Linked DNA regions of Homo sapiens: regions 1, 2, 3, 4, 5 and 6 are each linked to region 7. The links are contacts of gene promoters, found by promoter capture Hi-C in blood cells and fetal thymus (Javierre and others, 2016). All regions are on one chromosome and are shown on one strand. Each heading gives the region's core, a stretch centred on a gene start or on the middle of the fragment in contact. The rest is flanking DNA. Distances are from core to core; before and after follow the strand shown. Region 1 has its middle 330 kb from the start of LINC02223. Region 2 has its middle 310 kb from the start of LINC02223. Region 3 has its middle 290 kb from the start of LINC02223. Region 4 has its middle 240 kb from the start of LINC02223. Region 5 has its middle 360 kb from the start of LINC02223. Region 6 has its middle 250 kb from the start of LINC02223. Region 7 holds the start of BASP1 (brain abundant membrane attached signal protein 1).

What was found. The method cuts DNA at HindIII sites, captures the fragments that hold promoters and counts their contacts. A CHiCAGO score of 5 or more calls a contact.
Region 1: a fragment that was not itself captured here is called in contact with the fragment with the promoter of BASP1 in region 7 in 2 of 17 cell types (M1 macrophages and M2 macrophages); the score reaches 7.9 in M1 macrophages.
Region 2: a fragment that was not itself captured here is called in contact with the fragment with the promoter of BASP1 in region 7 in 5 of 17 cell types (megakaryocytes, M1 macrophages, M0 macrophages and 2 more); the score reaches 16.6 in megakaryocytes.
Region 3: a fragment that was not itself captured here is called in contact with the fragment with the promoter of BASP1 in region 7 in 5 of 17 cell types (M2 macrophages, M1 macrophages, megakaryocytes and 2 more); the score reaches 12.5 in M2 macrophages.
Region 4: a contact is called between a fragment that was not itself captured here and the fragment with the promoter of BASP1 in region 7, in 1 of 17 cell types (M2 macrophages). The highest score is 6.0, in M2 macrophages.
Region 5: a fragment that was not itself captured here is called in contact with the fragment with the promoter of BASP1 in region 7 in 2 of 17 cell types (M1 macrophages and M2 macrophages); the score reaches 5.6 in M1 macrophages.
Region 6: a fragment that was not itself captured here is called in contact with the fragment with the promoter of BASP1 in region 7 in 1 of 17 cell types (M2 macrophages); the score reaches 5.0 in M2 macrophages.

What each region holds. Positions count from the first base shown.
Region 1 is chr5:18,136,209-18,139,863 of GRCh38, forward strand. No RefSeq gene overlaps it. Among named protein-coding and RNA genes, the nearest start is that of LINC02223, 330 kb to the left of the region's middle. The HindIII fragment of the contact is 3,404 bases long and covers 275-3,655 here.
Region 2 is chr5:18,118,294-18,122,532 of GRCh38, forward strand. No RefSeq gene overlaps it. Among named protein-coding and RNA genes, the nearest start is that of LINC02223, 310 kb to the left of the region's middle. The HindIII fragment of the contact is 2,219 bases long and covers 748-2,966 here.
Region 3 is chr5:18,096,456-18,100,508 of GRCh38, forward strand. No RefSeq gene overlaps it. Among named protein-coding and RNA genes, the nearest start is that of LINC02223, 290 kb to the left of the region's middle. The HindIII fragment of the contact is 5,338 bases long and covers 1-4,053 here.
Region 4 is chr5:18,041,736-18,045,633 of GRCh38, forward strand. No RefSeq gene overlaps it. Among named protein-coding and RNA genes, the nearest start is that of LINC02223, 240 kb to the left of the region's middle. The HindIII fragment of the contact is 2,106 bases long and covers 319-2,424 here.
Region 5 is chr5:18,167,834-18,171,937 of GRCh38, forward strand. No RefSeq gene overlaps it. Among named protein-coding and RNA genes, the nearest start is that of LINC02223, 360 kb to the left of the region's middle. The HindIII fragment of the contact is 2,042 bases long and covers 528-2,569 here.
Region 6 is chr5:18,059,645-18,063,656 of GRCh38, forward strand. No RefSeq gene overlaps it. Among named protein-coding and RNA genes, the nearest start is that of LINC02223, 250 kb to the left of the region's middle. The HindIII fragment of the contact is 4,790 bases long and covers 1-4,012 here.
Region 7 is chr5:17,215,209-17,218,947 of GRCh38, forward strand. It overlaps BASP1 (brain abundant membrane attached signal protein 1), which reads left to right and starts at 2,423. Exons shown (of 2, transcript NM_006317.5): 1 at 2,423-2,602. BASP1-AS1 (BASP1 antisense RNA 1) reads right to left here and starts at 2,214. Exons shown (of 3, transcript NR_027253.1): 1 at 869-2,214. RefSeq lists silencers at 2,219-2,698, 3,189-3,508 and an enhancer at 3,543-3,739. The HindIII fragment of the contact is 5,505 bases long and covers 1-3,739 here.

The DNA of each region.
Region 1 (3,655 bases), core at 727-3,226, 920 kb after region 7:
AACTGTTATTTTAAAAACATTAGATATTCAGAAAGTCTTCCAATTTAGTTTGGTTTTTCTTTTTGTAACAAAAAATTGTTAGTAATTAAGAAGAGTGCTTTAGTTGAACTCAAGCTCTATAGATCTTACAGAAAGAGAACATAGTCACAATTATTTTATACAGCTATTATACCTCAGAGACCAAAAGCTGACAAATACGGCCTTCATTAGTCATCACTTGTGAGCAATTCTGCCTAATACAAGTTCAAAAACTTTGCATAAAGTTTTGCAAGTAAGCTTCATAATTACCAAGAAAACTTATTTTTTGTGTGGTGCAAATTATTTAATATTAAGGAAACTGCTAATGAAATTTATTATAAATATTATAAAATAAAATAATGAAATCATTTTAATAGAAGATTAAAATATATTTTATAAAATTCAATAACAATTTTTAAGTAAAATAAAACATTTCTGACATAAATTTTCAAAATATTGTCATCAGTAAGATAAAATTGATGAAAGAATTTATTAAAGAAATAGGATAATTCCTATTAAAGTAAAACAATCCCAGGGGTCCTAGTGTCACTACTGTTAATTAACTGTGTTCAGACAGTGCTAGCCAATAAATTCACAAACACAACAATCTAACAGGCAGTAGCAAGAATATCATCAATCCTAAAATACATAATTTTCTATCTACAGAACACAGGAAAATGAATTCAAGAATTGTTTTAATGATTATAGATTACAATGAAGTAGTGAGTAAAAATCAAAGATTCCAATCAAAAATCTTCTTTTTAGATTAAGAGCCACATAGATAATAGATTGGAAAAAAACTTATTCACCATATGAATAAAAACGTAACATTGAATAAACTTACGGAGTATGTGAAAAAATATACATACACACAATTTTCTATGCACACACACACACACATTCCCATAATTATTTGGAAACTTTAAAAAAGGATTTGAATACATGGTAAATGGTGACACGTCAGTTCATGTATTGGAAGACTTAATGTTGTAAAGATGTAAATTATAATCAAATTTCTACATGTTTAACACTAGTCTAAGAAACATTTAGTTACAGGCTTTCATGAAAAAAAGATCATATACATGTCATCCTAAAATTAATCTGCCAGCCTGAATGTGTGAGATGAGCCATTAAGTAGTTTGAAAATGAAAGGGAAAAAATAAGGGTAAAGTCACCTAATCTACTTAAAAGTCATGTTTTAAATAATTAATTAAAAACTATTGTGGTGATATGAAAATTTATTAGTCTGTTCTCATGTTGCTAATAAAGACATAGCTGAGGCCAGGTAATTTATAAAGGAAAGAGGTTTAATTGTCTCACAGTTCCACATGGCTGGGGAGACTTCACAATCATGACAGAAGGGAAAAGAGGAGCAAAGTCATGTCTTACATGGCAGCAGGCAAGAGAGCATGTGCAGGGAACTACCTTTTATAGAATCATCAGATATCATGAGACTTATTCATTGTCGGGAGAATAGCACGGGATAGACCCGCCGCCATGATTCAATTACCTCCCACTGTATCGCTCCCACAACACAAAAGAATTATGGGAGCTACAATACAAGATGAGATTTGGGTGGGATACAGCCAAACCATATCATTCCACCCTTGGTCCCTCCCAAATATCATGTCCTCACATTTCAAACCAATCATGCCTTCTCAACAGTCCCCCAAAGTCTTAACTCATTTCAGCATTAACTCAAAGTCCACAGTCCAAAGTCTCATCTGAGACAAGGCAAGTCCCTTCTGCCTATGAGCCTGTAAAATCAAAAGTTACTTCACAGATACAATGGGGATACAGTCATTGGGTAAATATACCAGCTCCAAATGGGAGAAATTGGACAAAATGAAGGAGCTAGAGGCCCTATGCAAATCTAAAATCCAATAGGGCTGTCATTAAACCTTAAAGTTCCAAAATAATCTCCTGTGATTCCATGTCTCATATCCAGGTCATGCTGATGCAACAGGTGGGCTCCCACAGCCTTGGGCATCTCCTCTCCTGTGGCTTTGCAGAGTACAGTCCCCCTCCTGGCTGCCTTCACAGGCTGACGTTGAGTGTCTGCTGCTCTTCCTGGTGCAGAGCACAAGCTGTCAGTGGATCCATTATTCTGGGGTCTGGAACATGGTTGCTCTCTTCTCACAGCTCCACTAGGCAGTGTCCAAGTGAGGACTCTGTGTGAGTGCTCTAACTCCACACCCCTGCAGCAAACTTCTGCCTGGACATCCAGGCATTTCCATACATCCTCTGAAATCTAGGGGAAGGTTCCCAAACCTCAATTCTTGACTCCTGTGCACCTGCAGGCTTGTGGAAGTGGCCAAGGCATTGGGCTTGCACCCTCTGAAGCCAAGGCCCAAGCTATACCTTGGTCCCTTTTAGCCACATTTAGAGCGGCTGGGTTGCAGGGCACCAAGTCCCAGGTTGCATGGAGCAGGGGGGGTGGTGGTCCCAGCTCACAAAACCATTTTTTCCTCCTAGGCCTCCAGTCTTTTGATGAGAGAGACTGCTGGAAAGATCTCTGACATGCCCTGGAGACATTTTTCCCATTGTCTTGGTGACTAATGTTTACCTCCTCATTACTTATGCAAATTTCTGCAGCAGGCTTGAATTTCTCCTCAGAAAATGAGTTTTTCTTGTATATCACATCATCAGCCTGCAAATTTTCTAAACATTTATGCTCTGCTTCCCTTTTAAACATAAGGTTCAATTGCAAACCATATCTTTGTGAATACATAAAACTGAATGCTTTTGACAGCACCTGAATCACATCTTGAACACTTTGCTTCTTAGAAATTTCTTCCACCAGATGCCCTAAATCATCTCTCAAGCACAAAAATCCACAAATCTCTAGGGCAGGGGCAAAATACCACCAGTCTCTTTGCTAAAACACAGCAAGAGTCTCCCTTATTTCAGTTCCAAACAAGGCACTTGCAAAGAAAAAAATATTGACCATCCTATCTATTATTAAATACAGGGTTTCCTGTTATTTTGTCTCAGCTTTGCTTTTGCCCTTCATAGCACTGACTACAGATTGCAATGACTTTATTTATTTGTCTGTTTTCCCTTCTCTCTTCTTTCTATGACAGCTTTTTTCTTTGTTTTCCTTCTTTCACTGTCTCTGTCGCAGTTTCTGCAAACCAGATAATGCATTCTTTTTATTCACTGTGTTTGGAACTAATAGTTCAGTGTCTAGTATACAGTAGGAAATTAATCCTTATTTTTTGAATGAATGGTGGATGGAAGAATAATAGGATGAATATGTGAATAAAGTAAAAATGGAAGGCCATGAAAAGACTGGATAAAAGAGAATAAAGGAGATGAATTGGGGTTTGAGACAAGTCTAGTTATAAGAGAAAATTCAATATGAAATTCTCATTACTGAAAGAATAAAAAAGCCACACTTTTTTCCCCAAGGAAACTAATTAATTTAATGTAGAAATTTGGCAGCTTAAGGAACTCATCAAATTGAAAACAGAATCATGCAACAGTGTCTACTTCAAATCACCTGGATAAGTGGCAGAATAAGATTATGGTAGTAATTTTTGGATTAAAAAAGCTATAATGTAATTCATTGCTTCATTCTTATTGGTAACTATTTCCTCTGAAAATCTAGTATCTTTAAAAGAATAGCCAAAGCTAA
Region 2 (4,239 bases), core at 607-3,106, 900 kb after region 7:
AATCTTCACACTTTACTGAAATTAGTAGGTGGAATTTATTCTGCACATCATTTAGGTGACGGCATTAATGTAATATTCTAAATAGCTGGTATAGGAAGTATGGCTTTGAGATGAGTTTAGCACTAATGATGTTGGGCAATCTTTCCACCACCTTTAGGTCACTTGAAAATTATTTTGTATACAAAGCATCCAAGATGTGTGTGTGTGTGTGTGTGTGTGTGTGTGTGTTTGTGAGTAAAGTTCTTGCTTTTCTTGATGATTGGAGGCCAATTATAAATTCCTTATAGGTTAAATGTATCAAACATTCTCCCCTAACTATATGAGTATACACACACACACACACACACACACACTTGCATGTATGTATGCATGTGTGTTATGTGAGTGTGTATATATTCATACACAAACACACACATATACATAGGCTGGACTAATGGAAAATTATTGCCTATTTTATTCCTATGTTAAATGCAGAATCCCAACTGATACAAAGAATTCTGTTGCTATAAATATGATTTAGAAATACACAGAAGTATTCCCTTAAAAGCTGTACTTATACAGAATATTTAAGAATGTAGTTTAATATGTCACCACCTACTGAAATAGAGACAACCTCCATCACTCTTTTTCCTCTTACAAACCTATTTTTCTCACTTTCCACTGCCTTGCACTGAAGAATATATATGTATTTAGAAGCAGCAGCGTTAGGAGGCTCCCCATCGAAAAAAAACCATAATAAGCATGTCAAGCTTTCAGCAGCAACCAAGGTATCGAGGTTCTCTCATCAAAATTGACTAGAAGGCTGGCATGATCCATGGAGAGAAGGAAGAACAGTGTGGTGCAGAGGGCCCAACTGAGAGCCACACAGGAAAGGGAACACCCTCCTCCAGCCAAGGGAGGCAGTGAGTGAGCGTGCCACCCAGCAGGAGAAACTGCGCTTTTGCTGTGGAACTGTGTGACCCACAGATTGGAAGATCCCGCTCGCGAACCCACACCACCGGCGCCTAGTGTCCCAACCCCAGAACGTGCAGATTCTTATAGCCTCTCAGCTGGAATCTGCTTAAGCCTACCAAACTCCTAGGGGGAGGGGAGATCAGCAGGCCCTGTGGCTGCCTGCTGTCTAAGCCATGGGACTCACAACTGCCTAACATGCTAAGCTCCCTGGGTGGGGGAAGGGTGGCACGCATTTCTATAGCTCCATGCTGTGCTTTTTCTCTGCTGGAGCCAAGGAGGCTGTAAGTCTTGGTCCCAAGACTTGTCTCCATAGCCCAACACACCCGCTGTGGTAATCTGTGGCCAAAGTGCCTCTTCAGGCCTAACTCTGACCCATCCTTCCTCAGTGGGCGGGGCTTCCTGGCAGGATCTCCAGTAACTCCAGCTAGAGGTTCAGGGACAGAATTAGGATTTTCCTGGGCCTGAGCCCCTAGTGGGAGGGGTGGCTGCACTCTTTGGGGACCAGCAGACTTAACCTCTCCTCCTGGTAGTTCTGAGGAATCCAGGCAGCCCACATGAGTGAGTTTCTCCCCAGCAAAATACACCCTTTCCACCAAGGGACAAAGTGCTTCGTAAAATGGGTTCTGCTCCCTGTTCAACCCAACTGGGTGAGACCCTCCAACAGGGATTGTCAGACACCCTATACAGGAGCAATCCTACTAGCATCAGGTTGGTGCCCCTCGAGGTCAGGGGTCCCGGAAGAAGAAGCAGGCACCCGCCTTTGTTGCTCTCCAGCCTCCTTGAGTGACATCTCCAGGCACAGAAGCAAATCAAATGAACAGGCCTGAAGTGAACCCCCAGCAAACTGCAGCAGCCCTGTAGAAGAGAGACCAGACTATTGAAAGAAACAAGCAGAAAGTGACAACAACAACAACAACAACAAAAAGGCCCTCACAAAAACCCCATCCAAGGGTCAGCAGCCTCAAAGACCAAAACTAGAAAAACTCATGAAGGTGAGAAAGAATCAATGAAAAAATGTGGAAAACCCAAAAGGTCAGAGTGCCTCTTGTCCTCCAAATGATAGCAAGGTCTCTCCATCAAGTTCACAGAACTAGATGGAGGATCAGATGACGAATTCACAGAAGTAGGCTTCCGAAGATGGATAATAACCAACTACGATGAGCTAAAGGAGTGTGTTCTAACCCAATGCAAAGAAGCTAAGAACCATGAAAAAAGGTTATAGGGGCTGCTAACTAGAATCACCAGTCTACAGAGGAACATAAACTACCTGATGGAGCTGAAAAACCCAGCACGAGAACTTCATGAAGCATACACAAGTATCAATGGCTGAATAGACCAAGTGGAAGAAACGATATCAGAGTTTGAAGACCATCTTACCGAAATAAGACATGCAAACAAGAATAGAGAAGAAAGAATGAAAAGGAATGAACAAAGTCTGCAAGGAATATGGGACTTCATAAAAAGACCAAACCTAACGATCGATTGGAGTACAATCCTCAATAAAATACTGGCAAATTGAATCCAGCAGCACATCAAAAAAACTTAACCACCATGATCAAGTTGGCTTCATCCCTTGGATGCAAGGCTAGTTCAACATATGCAAATCAATAAATGTAATCCATCACATAAACAGAACCAAAGACAAAAAAAACACATGATTATCTCAATAGATGCAGAAAAGGCCTTCGATAAAATTCATATCCCTTCATGTTAAAAGAGAACTTCCCTAACCTAGCAGAGGCCAGCATGCAAATTCAGAGAAAACCAGTAAGATACTGCACAAGAAGGTCAACCCCAAGGCACAAAATCATCAGATTCTCCTAGGTTGAAATGAAGAAAAAACTGTTAAGGGCAGCCAGAAAGAAAGGCCAGGTCACTTACAAAGGAAAGCCATCAGACTTACAGTGGACCTCTCAGCAGAAACTCTATAAGCTGGAGGAGATTGGGGGCCAATATTCAACATTCTTAAAGAAAAGAATTTTCAACCCGGAATTTCGTATCCTGCCAAACTAAGCTTCATAAGCAAAGAGAAATAAAACCTTTTCAGATGAGCAAATGCTGAGGGATTTCATTACCACCAAGCTTGCCCTGCAAGAGATCCTGAAAGAAGCACTGAATATGGAAAGGAAAAACTGGTACCAGCCACTGCAAAAACACACCAAAATATAAAGACCAATGACATTACGAAGAAACTGCATTAAAATCCAATGATAATAAATAGCATCATGATGACAGGATCAAACTCTGTCTGAACTGAAGTGTATATGGGCTAAATGCCCCAATTAAAAGACACATACTGGCAAATTGGATAAGGCGTCAAGACCCATTGGTGTGCTGTATCCAGGAGACTCATCTTACATGCAAAGACAGATACAGGCTCAAAATAAAGGGATTGAGGAAATTTTACCAAGCAAATGGGAAGCAAAAAAAGCAGGGGTTGCAATCCTAGTCTCTGATAAAGCAGACTTTAAACCAACAAAGATCAAAAGAGACAAAGAAGGCCGTTACATAATGGTAAAGGGATCAATTCAACAAGAAGAGCTAACTATCCTAAATATATATGCACCCAATACAGGAGCACCCAGATTCATAAAGCAAGTCCTTTAGAGACCTACAAAGAGACTTAGACTCCCACACAATAATAATGGGAGATTTTTAACACCCCACTGTCAACATTAGACAGATCAACAAGACAGAAAGTTAACAAGGATATCCAGGACTTGAATTCAGCTCTCCACCAAGCAGACTTAATGGACATCTACAGAACTCTCCACCCCGAATCAACAGAATATACGTTCTTCTCAGCACGACATCACACTTATTCCAAAACTGACCACGTACTTGGAAGTAAAGCACTCTTCAGCAAATGTAAAAGAACAGATATTATAACAAACTGTCTCTCAGAACACAGTGCAATAAAATTAGAACTCAGGATTAAGAAACTCACTCAAAACCACACAATTTCATGGAACTTGAACAACCTGCTCCTGAGTGACTCCTGGGTAAATAATGAAATTAAGGCAGAAATCAAGAAGTTCTTTAAAACCAATGAGAACAAAGAGACAATGTACCAGAGTCTCTGAGACACATTTAAAGCAGTGTTAAGAGGGAAATTTATAGCACTAAATCCCACATCAGAAAGCTAGAAAGATCTCAAATTGACACCCTAACATCACAATTAAAAGAGCTACAGAGGCAAAAGCAAACTAATCCAAAAACTAGCAGAAGACAAGAAATAACTAAGATCTAAGAAGAATTGAAGGATACAGAGACACAAAAACCCTC
Region 3 (4,053 bases), core at 726-3,225, 880 kb after region 7:
GTTGTCAAATATCCCCATGGCTCTCTCCTTCTCTTAGTTCAGATCTTTAATCAAAAGTCCCTTTCACTGAGGCTTTCCTTGACCACTCTCTGATGTGCTTCTTCCTTGCTTTTCTGCCCTTTAGGACTTGGTGATCATTTTACTTGCTATATTGGTAATTGCTTGTACTCCTAAGCAAAATAGAATTTTCTTACTATATTTTAAGGATATAGTATAGTTTTACTGTGTTATAAGGATATAATATAGTCTTACTATATGATAAGTATAGTAAGTCTTACTATAAGTTCTTACTATATTTAAGTAAGTATATTATTACTATATTACAGTCCTTACTATATTACAGGGATATAATATAGTCCTTACTATATTACAGGGATATAATATGGTCCTTACTATATTACAGGGATATAATATGGTCCTTACTATATTACAGGGATATAATATAGTCCTTACTATATTACAGGGATATAATATAGTCCTTACTATATTACAGGGATATAATATAGTCCTTACTATATTACAGGGATATAATATAGTCCTTACTATATTACAGGGATATAATATAGTCCTTACTATATTACAGGGATATAATATAGTCCTTACTATATTACAGGGATATAATATAGTCCTTACTATATTACAGGGATATAATATAGTCCTTACTATATTACAGGGATATAATGTCATCCTTACTATATTATAAATATATAATATACTCTTATAGTAAGTCTTATTATAAGTTTGTACTACAAGTAAATATATTATTACTATATTACAGTTCTTAGTATACTGTAAGCATAAAACACAAATCTTGTTCCTTTTGCTCACTGCTCTATCCAGACACTGACTAGACAATGCTTGGCCCATAATGACATTTGATAAATACCTGATGATTGCATAGTTACAAGTTTGCACCATCTTTTCCTAGATTTATAAATGTTTTCTGAATAGAGAGGTTTTCTATTCGCTGAAATCCGTGTGGGACTCAATCGGAAGTTTGCTGGGCATTGATCACTCTGTTCACTATTGAACATGAGTAAAATCTTAGCATTTAATATAATAAATGACATAAAGCGGCTGAACATATATCTTTATTCCAAAACTAGACTTCTAGAAATAGATTGTGTTCCTTAAAACTAAATAAAAGTTTCTATTTAGTTCTGGATACGATGATAGTTAAAAATAATACATTGACTTAGAATAAAGTCACTCAGGAAAGTTTTGTGAATATAGAACATTTTCTGCATTGATGATTATGAGGAAGCTATGGTAATTGTTATTAAAACAAAATATTCGTTGCTGCAGTGGTCAGCACCTTACTGGGTCATCTTTTGGAGTTCTTTGGCTCAACTTACGTGAAACCTACTCTAGTAAATTTAAAGGAAAAGGTAAATACATTGGAAGGCTGGAGAGGAGCTGGTAGAATTTTTAAAAATCCTGAAAGCCAGACCTCAGAAAGGATGGGTACAGAAGAAGCAGCGGGGATTTTCACAGCAGGAACTGGGCTCCAAGCAACATCTAACTGTGTCACTTTGATGGAGAAACAGACTGGATCAAGGCTCACCTCTACACCCTGGGGGCAGTGCGTCTCATCAGGCCTGCCGGATAATGTCCTGGAATTAGGAAGCAGCTAGTACAATGAAGGAAAACGGAGGAATATACTAACACAGGACGTGGGCAGTGTGGCAAGCCAGCCAAAACAAAAGAGTCCACTCTACCCTTTAATTAAACAGGTTGAGGTAGGTACCTAATGGCAAAGAATCACTGAAGAGAGGGATAAAATATCAACTCATGTAATTGTTATTCTACCTAAAAAGCAGATTTTTTTAAAAATTGTTTTTGTTTTCATTTGATTTGATTTATATTTAGATGTCTGATAATTTTCAGAGATCATGTGCACAGAAAAATGTCTGTGCATATCATCACAGCCTGAGATACGTCTTGCAGCCAACTCAGACAAACGATTTGCGAATACAACCTTGCAACATTCCTGAGCTTTTCTTTGTTAGGCTATTATTACAAAATTTCCAAGAGAAAAAATGGTCTCTACTTGTTTTTCCTGAGATGTAGGTGTATAAAAGAAGTAAAATACAAGACCTGTTTTTGTGAATAGGTAGGTGAGAAAACCATTAAAATTCAAATGAAAATAAGTCTTCGTTATGATCATGTCAGATTTGGAAAACTTTGGCAATTTGAGCGACATTTCCAACGTTAATTTTCACATTTTGAATAAAAGCAGTAATTACCCTACCTGCATGTGTCATGTACAAGGTATTGCCCTCATGTTTCTGTATTTTTTTTTTTTGGTGCATGTATGGCCACAGGAAGAGAGAGTTTTTCTCATAGCAATAAAAAATCAAGTGAAACCGTTTCTGTATTTATGGTGTTTCCTCCCACTGTCTACAGTTTATTTATGTGAATGTCTATGAAATGGTTTCCTTGGTAACTAAAAGGAGCCTGGGTCTGATCAACTGTATCACAGGCTCACAGTTTTAGGCATCCGTTGCTTACAAAAACTAACTACTCAATAACAAAATGTAAAAAATCAATACCAATTATTTATTGAATTGATATCTTTCTAGGGTTTTTCCATTTGGCTATTTTAGGATCCTACTCTATGCTAGATTTCCATGTAAACAGTTACAATTCAGGAGAAATTTACATTTATTATAGATACTGTTTTAGGAAGTTATACTAGTGAGGCCCTACCCCTTTCCAAATCCATTTGCTATTAATTGCCAAATGCTTTGGCTCTCATCTGAGTAACAACTAGCACTCAAATATTTAATGACTCAAAATCACAGAAAAAATAAGACTTGATGTGCCTCCATATATCACACCACCACAGCAGGGGTTAAAATAAATGCCAGAGGTGATGAAAAAATGACTGTTTTTCATAGAATCATGCGTGTTGTAAACAGCAGCTGGTTATCATTGTTTATTATGAAACAGTAGCAAAATGTCTTTATTCTGATTTCTAGCTTCTCTATGTTGCCTTCTTTCATATTGAAATTTTAGATACCTCTTGCTGAGTTCATTTGTATTCAGCTGTCGTTTCTCTCCTTCACTCAGCCATTCTCTTGACTATCCAAGACTTTTGTCACACTATGTCATCTGAAGTATTTGGTATTAATGAAATTTTATATGCAATGCTATCACTTCAGAAATAAACCTCATGCCACACTTTTGAGATTATAAAAATGTAGACTCATACTGAAGCTAACTCAGGATGAACAGAGGTTAGTGGGTGGAACCTGGTAATTTCATAATTAGATTTAACCTTTCTGGTGCCTTAGCAATCATTTTAATAATGACATTACTTTTCCTGTCCAATCACGTAACATTTCTGTGCTATTCGGGAAACTGCTTTGTTATGTAGTGAGCAATAAGACTGTCAAGTTTCATATCCTCCTGTTTTTCCTGAACAGATTCTCTAAAATATTAGAATAAATTTGACTCTGTTTCTCTTGCCAGAAACACAGGAATGAGAGCTTCTCTGGTGTTTCTATTACATCATCAATTTCTCCCTCCACTCTCATCCCTTTTCATGCCACAGAATCATTATTGGCATGCCTGTCAAAATTACTAAATCACTCTTTCCTATTCTCTTCCTTTACCACAAAATCCAATGTTTAAATCATAAACACTGCTTCCCTTCTGTAGCATGCATTGCTCACATTATCTGCACTACTTTAGAGATTAATCATCAGAAATTAAAAGATGGAATAAAGCCTCACTCAAATTAACACTCTTCCTCACTCTGGGTCTCTCATTTTATTTCTAATCTGATATGTCGAAATTATGCTTTATACTGACAAGAATGTTCTCTCACCTTGCAAATACTTCCCCAGACTTGAAATCTTGTTCAAGAAGGTAGCTTTTGATTTACTTCCCAAATAATGTCTTTTGGTTTAGTGTATATAAAAGAAGATTCCTTTTCCTTGATTCTGAAGATCCAAATGTTGAGGCAGATTTTTGTCTACTTTGAGTTAGCTGAGGCTTATTGGTTACATATTTTTTCCCACTCTTTTCACTGATATTCCAAATAACTAT
Region 4 (3,898 bases), core at 122-2,621, 830 kb after region 7:
CTATGCCCCACCTCTAATAATACTTCTTTCTCTTCGGGTCAGTAGAGTTCACAATGTAGAGTGCATTTTGGCGCACTCAGCTAGACACAGCATGAGCACACACAGGCACACAGTGATACTTGCATAATATGCTCAGACATGTTTTTTAAAACATAGAGATAAGTTTCTCTCTACATACATGCACACACACAAATAAGTATTTCTGTGCTACAATTTTTTTCACTTAATAACGTACAAAATTTCAAATAAGCTACACCCAGGTAAACTTAGTTGGATTAATTAACTCCCAATTAATACTGGTCAGTTTCAGCAACAGAAAGCTTCTAAATTCTAAGCACAGGGTTCTTTTGGAGAATGTGCATATCTTTGAAGTGCAAAAGTAAGAGAGACACAGAAAATCTAATGCTGTACTGGAAGGTCCTAAACAGTGTGTAGGTTAAGAAAAATATATTACAAGGATCCTGATTGTAAAATAAGAATTAAAATAATCTATTCATAGGTGATATGATCATCTATGTAGAACATTCTATGAAATTTGTAAACATGCTACTAGAACTAAACAGTGAGTTTAGCAAGATCATAGAATACAAGATTGACATATAAAAAACTATATAATAGCAACAAATAATCAGAAATTGAAAATTAAAATACCATTTATAATAGCACAAATAATATTATATACATAGTGGCACATCTAACAAAAGATGTGTCAGACCTGTATACTGAAAACTAGAAAACACTACCTACAGAAATAAATATAATGCAAATAAATTGTTAGCTATATCCTGGTCCTGGATCAAAAAACTCAATACTGTTAAGATATCAGTTCTCCCCAAAATAATCTATAAATTCAACACAATTCCTATCAAAATTCTCAATTTTTTAGTAGGAATTGATGAACTGATCCTAAAATTTGTATGACAATGAATAAATACTATTGGAAAAGAGGAGCAAATTTGGAAGGCTTTTATACTATCTAATTTTAAGATTTTTAAAAAATCTATGGTAATCAGCAGTATAATATTGAAAGACTAATCAAGGTACAAGAATGGAGGATCCAGAAGTAGATTTATACACAATATGGTCAATGAATTTTTGACAGAGACAGAAGCAATTCAGTGGAGAAAGAATGGTCTTGTCAACAAATGGTGCTGGATCATACCCACACCTTGTCTCTTATGCCAAAATTTAACTCAAAATGGATCAAAGACTTGAATGTAAATCTTAACACTACAGAAGTTACAGAAGAAAACATGGGAGTGTATCCTAACTGCCTAGTTTTGTGAATAAAGATGTACTGGAACACAGTTGTGACTCTTTGTTTACGTATTGCCTTTTGCAATGAAATGGCAGAGCTGAAAAACAGAGACTGTGTGATCCACAGAGCCTAAAATATTTACTCACAGGAACTTTTCTGAAGTTTGCTGACCCCTGCTTAGATTATAAGGAATAGAAAACCCAGTGAAAGCTGGCTTCTTCTCTCGTATAAACAGACATCCAAGAGGAAGATGGCTTTGGGGTTGTCTTAATGCTTCAGTGCTGAATTCTATGGGCCAACTTTATCTTCAGTCAAATAAGATGGCTGCAAGATTTCAAGGCTTCACAGCACAGACGGTAATATCCAGAGGGAGGATAAAGAAGTTGTTCCTTCCTGTGGTTTTGTCTTTAGTTTATGAAACCCTTCCTCAGCTAACCTCCTGCTCCCTGATCCAGTGACAGTCTTCTTCTTGAATTACTCTCCTTTTCATGAACTCTTTGCCATAAGGCTTAGACCTGTGTTCCTGAATCAACCACAAACAGGGAATGGAATTACCCTCTGATTACTCAGGGCCATCTTGTGGTTGGGGATTGTTAGGAAGCAAGGTGAAGTGATTTAGTGATGCCCTATGTGTTTTCTCCTGTGACCCCAGAAAGCACTGTTTGTTTAGGATTTATATAATTAAATTTCTTGATCTCTTCCCTTCCCTTCTCTTTCCCCTCCCCTCCCCTCCTTCTTCATTTTTTTTCTTTTTTTTTGAGATTCCATCGCTAAAAATCCTTGTAATGTTTCATCTTTGTAAATATTCTTAGCCATTGACTGGAGATAAACACCTTTATAATAAAAATAAAACATATTTCTACCTAGAGTATTAAAAAAATCTTTAATAGAAATGTATTTTCAAATTTCAAATGCCTTTTATTATATATCTAAATATTATTTAAAAATTTTAAATCTAGAGGTGTAATGAGTTATATAGATAGATTTTCTAATATCACTTATTTTTTTCATTTCTGGAATATATCCTTTCTGATTATGGGCTATATCTTTCAACATATTCAGGTTATATTTTATCTAGAAGTTTTTCATCTCTATTTGTAAGGTTTAAATCTATATTTGGGAGTTTCATTGGGTTTTGACCTTCATCAAATAAACTCTGATATCAAAGCTTCATAAAATGGTTTTGAAACATTTTTTTCTTTTTCTATATTGAAATGCTATCAACAGAAGTGGAATATTCTGTTCCAAAATGGTTTGATATGACTGATTCTTAAAACCATCACTCAGGAACATTTTTAAATTACCTCGATTTATTGGCAAGATAGCATTTGTTTTTCTACTCAATCAACTTTTTATAATTTTTATATTATAATATTCTAAAATTCTTATTCTGTAGAGCTTGATTTTTCTCTTGTTAAGTATATGTTAGTATATGAACTCGATAACACATACATAAATTAATTATTGTATTAAAAATAACTGTAAAACAACATAAAATAGTTTTTTTTTCCTTTTAGAGACTAGACAAATTACATGTGTTTTATAAATACCCAACCAGAACTGTACACACACACACAATGAGCAAAATTAAAATTAGGTCTTAAAAGTTTCATAGTCAACATGCGTCAGTTGTACAATAGAGAGACGAGCATGGAGATCAGATTTCATCTCAATATGCAGTTTTATAAATATCTGTTTTGGCTCATATGATATTGTAGTCATATTAAGTTTCCTCCTCATTTTAGTGACCTTGATATAGAAATATATATACACATTTAAATATCAAATCACCTCTTAGGCATGCATGATCACATTCTAATGCTATAGATAAGACCCACTGGTCATTACTTTGCTTCCTAAAAATTTTTCTAGACTGGCAGTTAGCTGCCTAATAGATGATTCCAGGAAAGAACAAAGCCAGTCTAATTATTCAAGAAGTTACTTTTGTACCAGAACTGTTGTAGGTGGACTGTAATTTTTTGTAGAAAGTTTAGGACTTAATTACCAGACATTCCTACTCAAAGATATTTGAAATCAGTTTTTCCCTAAATATCTTTTGATTGCAAAGCTATTTACTATTTAGAATCCTGAAATGTTGATATTTATAATAAAAAGAAAATTTAAATATAGAAATACCTTCAAGAATAACATACGACCACATTGCTTTTTTCTTGCAGATGAGCAGTTGCATTTTGTTAGATCTTAAAATTAAGATTGCAGTGTTTTTTCCCTGGAAACCAATATATCTGCTGCAAATGTGTATTACAATATTACAGTCATAAAATATAATAATTAAAATTGTGAGGTTTTTCTGGAATGGTGGCTTTTCCTCTGGTTAGTATTACTTGAAATAGCATAATCCCCTTTTAAACTATTAAAGTTTAGTTTAAACTCATTTAGCTGAATGAGATATTAGACTATTAAGTATCATTAAGAAAATAAATTAACACTATCCAGAGACAAGTGTTTATAGTTTCTGAGTAATATATAACTTTTTTTTTTTTGAGAGACAAGAGTCTCGCTCTGTTGCCCAGGCTGGAGTGCAGTGGCGCGAACTCTGCTCACTGCAGACTCCGCCTCCCAGGTTCACGCCATTCTCCTGTCTCAGCCTCCCAAGTAGCTGGGACGACAGGCACCCGC
Region 5 (4,104 bases), core at 299-2,798, 950 kb after region 7:
AGAATCCCATTATGCATATATTCATATGCATAATGTTTTTTCACAGGTCTCTGAGGTTTTGTCCATTTTTCTTCTTCTATTTCTTATATTGAATAATTTCACTTGATCTAAGTTTGCTAATTCTTTCTACTGCCACTTTGAATGTGTTGTTAAACATGCTTCAGTTTTTGTTATTTTCAGATTTTTTATTTGAGCTTTTGTACATTTGAGCCCCAGAATATTTATTTTTAAAAGTAATTTCTATTTATTGATATTTTCTATTTGATGAGACATTGTTCTTATACTTTTCTTTAATTCTTTAGTCATGATAACATTTAGTTCTTTGAACATATTTACAACAGCTGATTTAAACTCCTTGTCTAGTAAGTCTAACATCTGTATTTCTTATAGACTGTTTCCATTGACTTTTTTTCTGTGTATGGGCCATACATATCTGTTTCTTTAAGTGTCATAATTTCTTATTTTGAACTGTATATTTTACATAATATAATGTGTCAACTCTGGAAATAAGATATCTCTCTCCCCAAAGCTTACTTTTGCTGCTTGTTTAATAACTTTCTGGGACACATGCTGTAAAATCTATATTCTTTGTTTTGTGCAGCTACTGAATTTTATGATTGGTTATCTTAGCTTACAGAAATTTTCTTACGTCCTTTGAACAAATATGTCTACCATTCTATTCTGAAGTCCTTTGTGTGTTACGGAATGCTTTAAAAACTACATTGGGACAGTTTATATCTCTACTTTATCTTTCTCTTCTTTCTTACACAGCACAGCAAGGTTATTCAAAAGTAAAACATTTTGGCTTTCCCAGATCTTTCTTGGGTATGCCAGAGTATCGCACATGTGTGTGGCATTCTAGACTCCCAGGCATATATTAGTGGCATTCAAAGTCTGCTGTAGACAGATTATTTATGTTTTTAGTTACTCTAACTTTTTTGGTAAGCCTCTTGTTACCAACAATTGGTAATGCCACCTCAGGCAACCACCATGTTAAATAACAATTGCTGATTGGTTTCGGCAAACAGCCTAGGGATATTGTTGTACATGCAAAACAAGCTCCAATTAGGGTCAAAAAAAGATAAGACTTGAGAAATGAAGTTTTCAGAAATCTTCTGAAAGGCAAATAATAATAATTTTATGAAGATGAAGCTCTTTGTGATACAGAAGTTGTCCCTTTCAGCACCTGATAGGCTGCTGATTTTCAGAGCTACAATAGTTATGAAGCTATAGGGATACCACATAGCTCCAGAAAGAGGAATCAGACTAGGGCGAGTTAATGCTACAAAGCTAACTGTTCTTATTAAGATTTAGGTGGTTTTTTTGTTTGTTTTTCATAAGTATTCTTTCTAAGTATCATGCCCACAACCTGGGTGAGAGGATCTGCACGCAAAAATTCAGCATAACTGACATGGTTTGGCTTTGTGCCCTCACTCAACTCTCATCTTACATTGTAATCCCATAATCCCCACATGTTGTGGGAGAGACCTGGTGAGAGGTAATTGAATCATGGGGGCAGTTTCCCCCTATACTGTTCTCATGATAGTGGGCGAATTCTCATGAAATCTGATGGTTTTATAAGGGGCTTCCCCCTTCACTCATCACTGATTCTCTCTCCTGCCACTCTGTGAAGAGGTGCCTTCTGCCATGATTATAAGTTTCCTGATACCTCCCCAGCCATGCTGAACTGTGAGTCAACTAACCTCTTTCCTTTATAAATTACCCAGTCTTGGGTGTGTCTTTATTAGCAGCATGAGAATGGACTAATACAATAACACACTATACCCATGTAACAAAACTACACATGTACCCTCATATCTAAAATAAAAGTTGGGATGATGGGGAGCAAGATGGCTGAATGGAAGTCTATACTGATCATCCACCCCAAAGGAAGACCAAATTGAACACTCATCAACCCAAAAAGCACCTTCATGAGAACCAAAAATCAGCTTGGGTACCAGCTTGGCCACAGTGGGGGAGAGCACCAAGGAGGTTTTTAGGGTCCCCAATTCAAGGCCTTTGCTCTTAGATGACATTTCTGTACCTGACCAGGGCCAGATGGGAGCCCAATTACCCAGAGGGAGACTCTTAGGCCTCCTGACATTTACTGCAAACTGACTGAAGAGCTTTTGGTCCTTCAGTGAACATCAGCAGTAGCCAAGCAGTAATTGCTGTGGACCTGGGGTTGTGGTGGCCATGAGGAGAGACTCCTCTGATTGTGGAAAGGGGAAGAAAGAGTGGGAAGGACTTTGTCTATGGCATGGGTGCCAGCTCAGCCACAGTAGAATAGAGCACCAGGTAGATTCCTAAGGTTTCTGACTCTAGGCCCTAGCTCACATATGGGGACAGGGGTATCTTTCCTGAAGGGAAAGACACAAGCCTGGCTGGTTTTGCCATCTGCTAATTATAGAGCACTAGGGCTCTGAGCAAACATAGGCGATAGCCAGGCAGTGCCTACTGCAGGCCTTGCATGAGAACCAGTGCTGTGCTTGCTTCAGGTCTGACCCAGCAGAGTTATAGTGATAGTGGCCTCAGGGGTGCTTGTGTCACCACTCTCCCAGCTCCAGGAAGCTTAGCACAGAGAGCAAAATTCTGTTTTCTCAGGAGAAACTGAAAGAAAAGAACAAGAGTCTTCATCTGGTAATCTAGAGAATTCTCCCAGATCTTATTCAAAACCACCAAAGTGGTAACTCTATGAATCTAAAAGAACCACAACATTATTGGGCTCAGAGTCCCCCCTAATGCAGATATGTCTGTAGTGACCAAAACTTAAATCATAACACCTAAGTCGCTTCAAATACTTGGAAAGTCTTCCCAAAAAGGATGTGTACAAATAAGCCTAAACTGCAAAGACAATAAATGCCTAACTCTTCAATGCCCAGGCACCAAGAAACATCCACAAGCATTAAGACCATTCAGGAAAACTTGACCTCACCAAACAAACCAAATAAGGAACCAGTGAACAATGCTGGAGAGACATAGACATGCGACCTTTCAGACTGAATTCAAAATGGAAACTCAACGAAATTCAAGATAACACAGAGAAGGAATTTAGAAGCATATTCGATACATTTAATAAAAATATTGAAATAATTAAAAGGAATCAAGCAGGAATTCTGGAAGTAAAATATGCAACTGACATACTAAAGAAGGCAGTTCTTACCAGCAGAATCTATGAGGAGCTTAAAGAAATAATCAAGTAGAAAGCAAATAACCCTAATAAAAAAGTAGGGAAAAGACATGAACAGACACTTCTCAAAATAAGACATACAAGCAGCCAACAAACATAGAAAAAGCTCCACATAACTTATCATAAAAGAGATACATCAAAACCACAATGAGATATCATTTCACACCAGTCAAAATAACTATTATTAATAAATCAAAGAACAACAGATGTTGGTGAGACTATAGAGAAAAGGAAATACTTATACATTGTTGGTGGGAACATAAATTAGTTCAGATATTGTGGAAAGCAGTTTGGAGATTTCTCAAAGATCTTAGAACTCATTCAGCCCAACAATCCTATTACTGCTTACTTATCAAAAGAAAACAAATTGTTCTACCAAAAAGACACATGGACTCATATTTTCATTGTAGCACTATTCATAATAGCAAAGAAATAGAATCAACCTAGGTGCCCATCAATGGTGGATTGGATAGAGAAAATGTGGCACATAGACACCATGGAATACTACACAGCCATAAAGGAGAATGAAATTATGTCCTTTGCAGCAACGTGGATGCAGCTGAAGGTCATTACTCCAAGTGAATTAATGCAGAAACACAAACACTGAATACATCATGTTCTTACTTACAAGTGAGAGCTATACATTGGGTACTCATGGACATAAAGATGGAAACAATAGACCCTGGCTACTACCAGAGGGGGAAGGAAGGGAGAGGGGGCAAGGGCTAAAAATCTAAATAGGCCCTGGAGACTACTGGAGGGGGAAGGGAGGGAGGGGGTCAAGGGCTAAAAATCTAAATGTTGGGTACCTTGCTCAGTACTTGAGTGACTATTTGTATCCCAAACTTCAGCATTACGCAATATACCCAGTTAACAAATCTTCACATGTATTTGCGGAATCTAAGATAGAAGTT
Region 6 (4,012 bases), core at 919-3,418, 840 kb after region 7:
CAATGGCAAAAACTACAATTAGTTTTGCACCAACCTTATATATTGGCTGGGCAGTGCAGTGCACATCATGGGGTCCGTTTTTGTCTCCTTTAGTAAGCCGTTGAGCAGGCGTCTGTTAGCTCCTTACCATGCTCATTAGATTGTGGAGATTCCAATGAATATTGTTCAAGATTAGCTGAAATTCTAAATATTGGAATTCCAATGTATATTCTGTTACATCAACTGTTTCTCCAAATTTGTTGATAATTTAGCAGTTTTAAGTGGAGCTGTCTGTAAGTTCACTCAGTGAACACTAATCAAGTGCTTATGTGCAAGACACTGTAAGTAGTATGTACTTTTTAGATGAATTCTATGAATGAGCTTGTCTATTCCTATAGCTTCACCTACCACAATCATAGTGATGACTCTTAGATTTGTGTATTTAAGTTGGATCTCTCTCCTGAACTTCAAATCCTCCTACCAAATGCTTTTGGACTATTCCATTTGAAATTCTAGAAAGGAAGGAAAGAATTCACAGTGGGTGTGTAACTCCTTTCATCTCTAGGTGCAAGAGGTAGTGACAATATTGACTATTTGCTCTTGTAGAAATGTTCACCGTCAACATTGCTTATTGTTAAAACACTTGGGCAGGGTGCGGTGGTTCACACCTGTAATCCTAGGACTATGGGAGGCCGAGGCAGGCAGATCACCTGAGGTTGGGAGTTCGAGACCAGCCTGAGCAACATGGAGAAACCCCATCTCTACTAAAAATACAAAATTAGCCAGGCATGGTGGCACATGCCTGTAATCCCAGCTACTTGGGAGGCCGAGGCAGGAGAATCACTTGAACCCGGGAGGCGGAGGTTGTGGTGAGCCGAGATAGTGTCATTGCACTCCAGCCTGGGCAACAAGAGTGAAACTCTGTCAAACAAACAAACAAACAACAACAAAACAAAAAAAAAATACTTAGAACTTATGAGATATAGCTAATTTGTCAATGGAAGTTACTTATGCAGTATATTCACTCATGAATGACCAAAGCAAAATTTCTTTTATAACATTTTGTTTTGCTTTGGTCGTTCATGAGTGAATGTTATAAAAGAAAATTGTGTCCCCCCAAAAATTTATATGTTGAAGACATAACCCCTACTCTGAGTGTGTTTGGAGATAAGGCCTTTAAAGAGGGAATTAAGGTTAAATGAAGTTGTCTATGTTGACGCCCTGATCAAATGTGACTGGTGTTTTGTTTTTTTTTTCAATTATACTGTAAGTTTTAGGGTACATGTGCACAACGTGCAGTTTCTCCATGTTAGTTACATGTGTATACATGTGCCATGTTGGTGTGCTGCACCCAGTAACTCGTCATTTAATATTAGGTATGTCTCCTAATGCTATCCCTCCCCCCTCCCCCCACCCCACAACAGGCCCCGGTGTGTGATGTTCCCCTTCCTGTGTCCATGTGTTCTCATTGTTCAATTCCCACCTATGAGTGAGAACATGTGGTGTTTGGTTTTTTGTCCTTGCGATGGTTTGCTGAGAATGATGGTTTCCAGCTTCATCCATGTCCCTACAAAGGACATGAACTCATCATTTTTTATGGCTGCATAGTATTCCATGGTGTATATGTGCCACATTTTCTTAATCCAGTCTATCATTGTTGGACATTTGGGTTGGTTCCAAGTCTTTGCTATTGTGAATAGTGCCGCAGTAAACATATGTGTGCATGTGTCTTTGTAGCAGCATGATTTATAATCCTTTGGGTATATACCCAGTAATGGGATGGCTGGGTCAAATGGTATTTCTAGTTCTAGATCCCTGAGGAATCGCCACACTGTCTTCCACAATGGTTGAACTCGTTTACAGTCCCACCAACAGTGTAAAAGTTCCTATTTCTCCACATCCTCTCCAGCACCTGTTGTTTCCAGACTTTTTAATGATCACCATTCTGACTGGTGTGAGATGGTATCTCATTGTGGTTTTGATTTGCATTTCTCTGATGGCCAGTGATGATGGGCATTTTTCCATGTGTCTTTTGGCTGCATAAATGTCTTCTTTTGAGAAGTGTCTGTTCATATCCTTCGCCTACTTGTTGATGGCGTTGTTTTTTTTTTTCTTGCAAATTTGTTGGAGTTCATTGTAGATTCTGGATATTAGCCCTTTGTCAGATGAGTAGATTGCAAAAATTTTCTCCCATTCTGTAGGTTGCCTGTTCACTGTGATGGTAGTTTCTTTTGCTGTGCAGAAGCTCTTTAGTTTAATTAGATCCCATTTGTCAATTTTGCCTTTTGTTGCCATTGCTTTTGGTGTTTTAGACATGAAATCCTTGCCTATGCCTATGTCCTGAATGGTAATGCCTAGGTTTTCTTCTAGGGTTTTTATGGTTTTAGGTCTAACATTTAAGTCTTTAATCCATCTCAAATTAATTTTTGTATAAGGTGTAAGGAAGGGATCCAGTTTCAGCTTTCTACATATGGCTAGCCAGTTTTCCCAGCACCGCAGTTATTCCAAAATTGACCACATAGTTGGAAGTAAAGCTCTCCTCAGCAAATGTAAAAGAATAGACATTATAACAAACTGTCTCTCAGACCACAGTGCAATCAAACTAGAACTCAGGATTAAGAAACTCACTCAAAACCGCTCAACTACATGGGAATTGAACAACCTGCTCCTGAATGACTGCCGGGTACATAACGAAATGAAGGCAGAAATAAAGTTCTTTGAAACCAACAAGAACAAAGACACAACATACCAGAATCTCTGGGACACATTCAAAGCAGTGTGTAGAGGGAAATTTATAGCACTAAATGCCCACAAGAGAAAGCAGGAGAGATCTGAAATGGACACCCTAACATCACAATTAAAAGAACTAGAGAAGCAAGAGCAAACACATTCAAAAGCTAGCAGAAGGCAAGAAATAACTAAGATCAGAGCAGAACTGAAGGAAATAGAGTCACAAAAAACCCTTCAAAAAAATCAATGAGTCCAGGAGCTGACTGGTGTTTTTATAAGAAGAGGAAGAGACCTCAGGCTTGTGCACATGCAGAAGAAAGGCCATGTGAAAACACAGCAGGAAGGCAGCCATCTACAAGCTAAGCAGAGAGGCCTCAGGAGAAGCCAAACCTTCAAATACCTTGACCTTGAACTTCCAGACTCCACAAACTTGAGAAAATAAATTACTGTTGTTTAAGCCTTCAGTCTGTGGCACTTTGTTATGGCAGCCCTAGAAAACTAGTAACTAAGAAACCCTGAACCCAAGCAATGTTCTCTGGACCAGCATGGATCTCATGGACATACTGTCAGTGCCCTTCTGTTACTCCAATACCAATGCATGCCCATGAAAGAGAATGGCATTAGGGACCTGTGTCTGACAGGCCCTGGGATCCTTCAAAGACGAATATTGCATTTGTGCCTGGGTTTGCTTATACCCATTGTGAATCATTAGTAAAATTTAGTGTTTGATAGTGTCTACGATTCCTAGGAATCTGCCTTAACAAGTCAACCCTTTGTTGTATTTCAAGATGTGTCTTACAAGCATTTAAAAGTTAACATATTTAAAACTGAAACCATCATTTCAGACCTGCAAACATACATCTCAATAAATAGCTCTGTGTCACTTTCTGGGGCTGCTGTAAAGAAGTTGGCACCTGGGCTGTAATAAACTGGGTGGCTTAAACAGAAATTTATGCTTACAGTTCTGGATCCTAGAAGTACTAAATTAAGCTGTAAACAGGGTGTTAGTCTCTAAAGACTCTAGTGTAAAATCAGTTCCATACCTCTCTCTCAGCTTCCAGTGCTGCTGGCAATCCTTGGTCTTCTTTGACTTGTAGATACATCACTACAATTTCTACCTATATTGTCGCATAGTGTTCTTCCTATCATTATGTCTCTTCTTTTCTCCTAAGAACACCAGTCATAAGGGATTAAGCACCCAGTCTACTCCAATATAACCTCATGTTAAATTGACTATAGCTGCAAAATCCCTACTTTCAAATAAGGTAAACATTTCTCAGGTTGCCTTACATTCACAAGTACC
Region 7 (3,739 bases), core at 1,173-3,672:
AAGGAAGATAACACCCACAGGCTTAGACTGCAAATACAATGAGGAAATGTATTTGCTAATTTTTAGATGATTTACATGCCTGGAAGATCACAAGGATAAAAACCCTGAATGCTAAATGAACAAGTAGGCAGCTCCTCTAACAAACTCAGGAAATGTCTTGAGCAGAACATTGCAAATATTCATCTAATTCGATAGGGTAAAAACCTAGAGACTTGCTCATAGAGGTTGAAAGAAAATGTAGCTCAGTGGTTTTCAGCCTGGAGTGATTTTGCCTCCCAGGAGACATTTGGCGATATCTGGGGACATTTTTGGTTGTCACAACTGGTGCTGGTGCTGGTGGTGTGTGTGGAGGGTGGTACTGGCTGCTAGTAGAGGCCAGCAATGAATGCCAGACATCCTACAGTGCATAGGACAGCCTTCCACAACAAAGAAATATCTGGCCCCAAAAGGAGGTGGGAAAACCTGCATCCTCCATTTAGCTTTATAGATGGTGTACTGGTGTGAGGGAAATAAATATTCAAAAGAATAAAATGCTTTAGAAGCAACCTCATTTGTAATTTGCTTCCCTGGTATTTTACTACACTAACTTTTTATTTCACTTTAAATGGCAGAAAGAGAAACAGGAAAAAACAAACAGTTCCCGCTTTTTTCTTACCTTTGGTTTAAATTTGAACATTTCCAGCTGGCATGCATTAATCTAATTTGGTGCTGCCTCCTATGACCTGTAAATGTGTACAGTAGGGTCGTCAAGTGTTTCCACTGCAAAATCGCTAGTGCAGTTGAGTAAATATTGCCACTTTGCTTAATTCAAATATGTACGTTAAAGTTACGATAAGTTAATTTTCCTGTTAAGTGAAAATGCACTTACCTTTACCCAGTTGAATACAGATGTACTTGCCTTTGACGTCTGCCTCCCTAAGTATGGTTACAGTTTGTCACTCCGGTTCTGGAGGGCCACCCTGTCCCTGAATTCACGCCCAGGTCCTGAGGGCAGAACCATCCTGAGGACAACCTGCAGCTCCATCGATTTTTTCTTGGCTGGGACGCAGGCGAGCATGAAAGCGATCCAAACACAGCCAGAGGGCGCCAAAATGCCGCAAATAAAAGTTCCAAAGGCGTCAACTGGCTTTTGCGGGAAGGTAAAATTGGCTTTTGTGTAATCAAAGAGCTACCGTTGTCAACGATGTCACGTTACGTTATTTTTGTATGTCCCTCTTGCCAACAGGTAAGCAAAGTGAACGCATCTTCCTACCCCGGTGGCTATTCTGTGTCCCGGTGCTAAACCAAGTGTCCGCCCCCTTAGGGCACCCGGACAAGCCGCGGTTGGCCCTAGCTTTGACTCGAGCGCTCGCAAGCAGCAGCGTGCGGGCTGCCTCGGCCAACCCCGTCTTCTCAATATTGGTGGCCTCCATTAAAGCACAGACATCAAAAACATCGACGGCCCCTTTCCCCTCTTCTCTTCCCTCCTTCCTCTCCCAAGTTCCGAGAGCATCCTCCGAGGGGCGACGTCTCTCGCCCCACCAGCTGGACCTCGGCGACCGCGCCTCCCCCGAAGCTGCAGCCTTCGGGGCTGAGCCCCGCGGGTGCGGGTGCAGGTGCGGAGCCGCCCAAGGTGCGCAACTCGTTTGCAGCGGCGCAGCCCAGACGCGCCTGCAGCTGGGGCTCACCCCAACCTCGCTGCCAGCCGAGGTAGCGGAATCGTAGTCGACGTCGGGAGCGGGCTGGACTGGGGTCTGAGAAGGGTAGCTGGTGCCAGGGGGTGTCATTCATCACCTCGAGGCAGCTCCCTAAGTCTGAGCGAGAGCCCGAGCACTTCTTATCCAACGGTTCCAAATAAATGAGGGGGAGAGAGAGAGAGAGAGTGAGAGAGAGAGAGAGAGAGAGAGAGTGAGTGAGAGAGTGAGAGAGTGGGAGAAGTCCACGGACAGCCCAGGCGGCGCGGCGGGGGAAGGGGGACGCAGGAATGGAGGAGAGGAGAGGGGAGGCGGAGGGGGGATCTGAATAGAGGGCATTTAGGAAACGTTGGCGGGGCACAGAGTTGGGAGGTGGGGGGAAGGGAGGAACCAGGATGGCGGATAGGAGAGAAATGGGGGTGACTGTGCTGGAGGGGAGGGGAGGTGGGGGCCCAGAGCTGGGGGGAGTCAAGGGGAGGCGGGCGTGTCCAGGCTGGAGGGGAGAGGGGAGGGTCTGCGCCGGAGGAGGGGAGGGGAGCAGAGGGAGTGCAGGGGGTGGGGAGATGGAGCTGGAGGGGGTGGAGGGGAGACGGGCGGGGCGCCGGGCTGGAGGGAGGGGAGAGAGGCGGGCGGGGAGCGCGGGAGGAGGGAGGCTGGGCGGGCGGACGCGCGGGGGGAGGGCACTGGGCAGGAAGGGGAGGGGGAGCGAGCGCGAGAAATGCAGAGGCTGCAGCGGCGGCGGCGGCGGCAGTAGCGGCAGCGGCGACGACGGCGGCGGCAGCGCTCCAACTGGCTCCTCGCTCCGGGCTCCGCCGTCGAGCCGGGAGAGAGCCTCCGCCAGCGGCCAGGCACCAGCCAGACGACGCCAGCGACCCCGGCCTCTCGGCGGCACCGCGCTAACTCAGGGGCTGCATAGGCACCCAGAGCCGGTAAGGAGGCGCGCCCGGTGGCCCCGCGCCGCCGCGGACCCGGGGGCCTCCGTCCCCCACCGCGCCGCGCCCCGCCCCGCAGCCCCCGGGCTCTCCCTTCATGCAGCGGGCAGCAGGGATGTGGGCCCGGATTGGACGGCAAGGGCCTGGGGTCCCTCTGTGAGGGCTCCGTCGCACTTCGGGGATCCCGGGTGATGGGGGGCCCAGAAGTGGGAGGCTTCAGCCGCTCGCATGGTGGAGGGGTGAGGGGGGCGGCGAGGTTGGTAAACGGAGCTGGGGGGAGGGGGCTGTCGGGGAGAGGAGCTGCGGGTGACGGGAGGAATTGCCGAATGCGAAACCCCCTCAGTGCGTTGAGTCCCGGGGAGACGGTTCTGTGGGCTGAAGGGAGCGCTTCCGTCATCGGAGCCCTTACCAGCCTGGGAGAAAGCGCTCGGGGCGAGGGGCGCAGCAGCCAAAGATGGAGGGTGGGGGTGGGGTGGGGCGGGAGTCCGGGGAGAAAGAAGATGGGGAATCTGGCCCGATCAGAAGGAAGTGGGTGGCTTTTTGCTTTGGCAAACGGGTTTTCTCGACCCATGGGACTCCTGGATCTTGGTTCTGGGGCCAAGGAATACGAGGTTCACACGGCGACGTGCACTCAGAAGCACCTCCCGAGCAGATCGGAGCCCCAGCCTCGTCAGTGGCGGAATTGCCTTCCTACGAACCCGTGGGCTGCCTCGGAGCAGTTTGTTTTTTCGAGCCTTTGGTTCCAAGAATGCGCCAGGCGCCTCCGCCCTGGGTCCCGGCCCCGGCCCGGGCCCGGGGGGTGTGGGCTTGAACCTGACAGCGCGCGGCCCTAACTGGGCTCAGCCCCGCTGGGAGCGTAGGGTTGGGGTTGAGCAGCTTTTGCCCAAAGCGCTAAAGCTGAAACCCGGCGCCCGGTTCCTGCTCCCCCCGCCCCCGTCCCCCCTCCATTTCCAGAAAAATAAAAATTGCGGAATCCTGGATCCGATCGCACGCACAATGCGCGGCTGCAAACCGCATTCTTTTCATGAATATTCATCGAACGCTTGGCCAGGCTCCTTATCTGCGTCCCCAGAGACATTTCCGCCTTGAAACGAACTCGGTGGACAGCCCTTGCCCATGTAATTCTCACTCTGC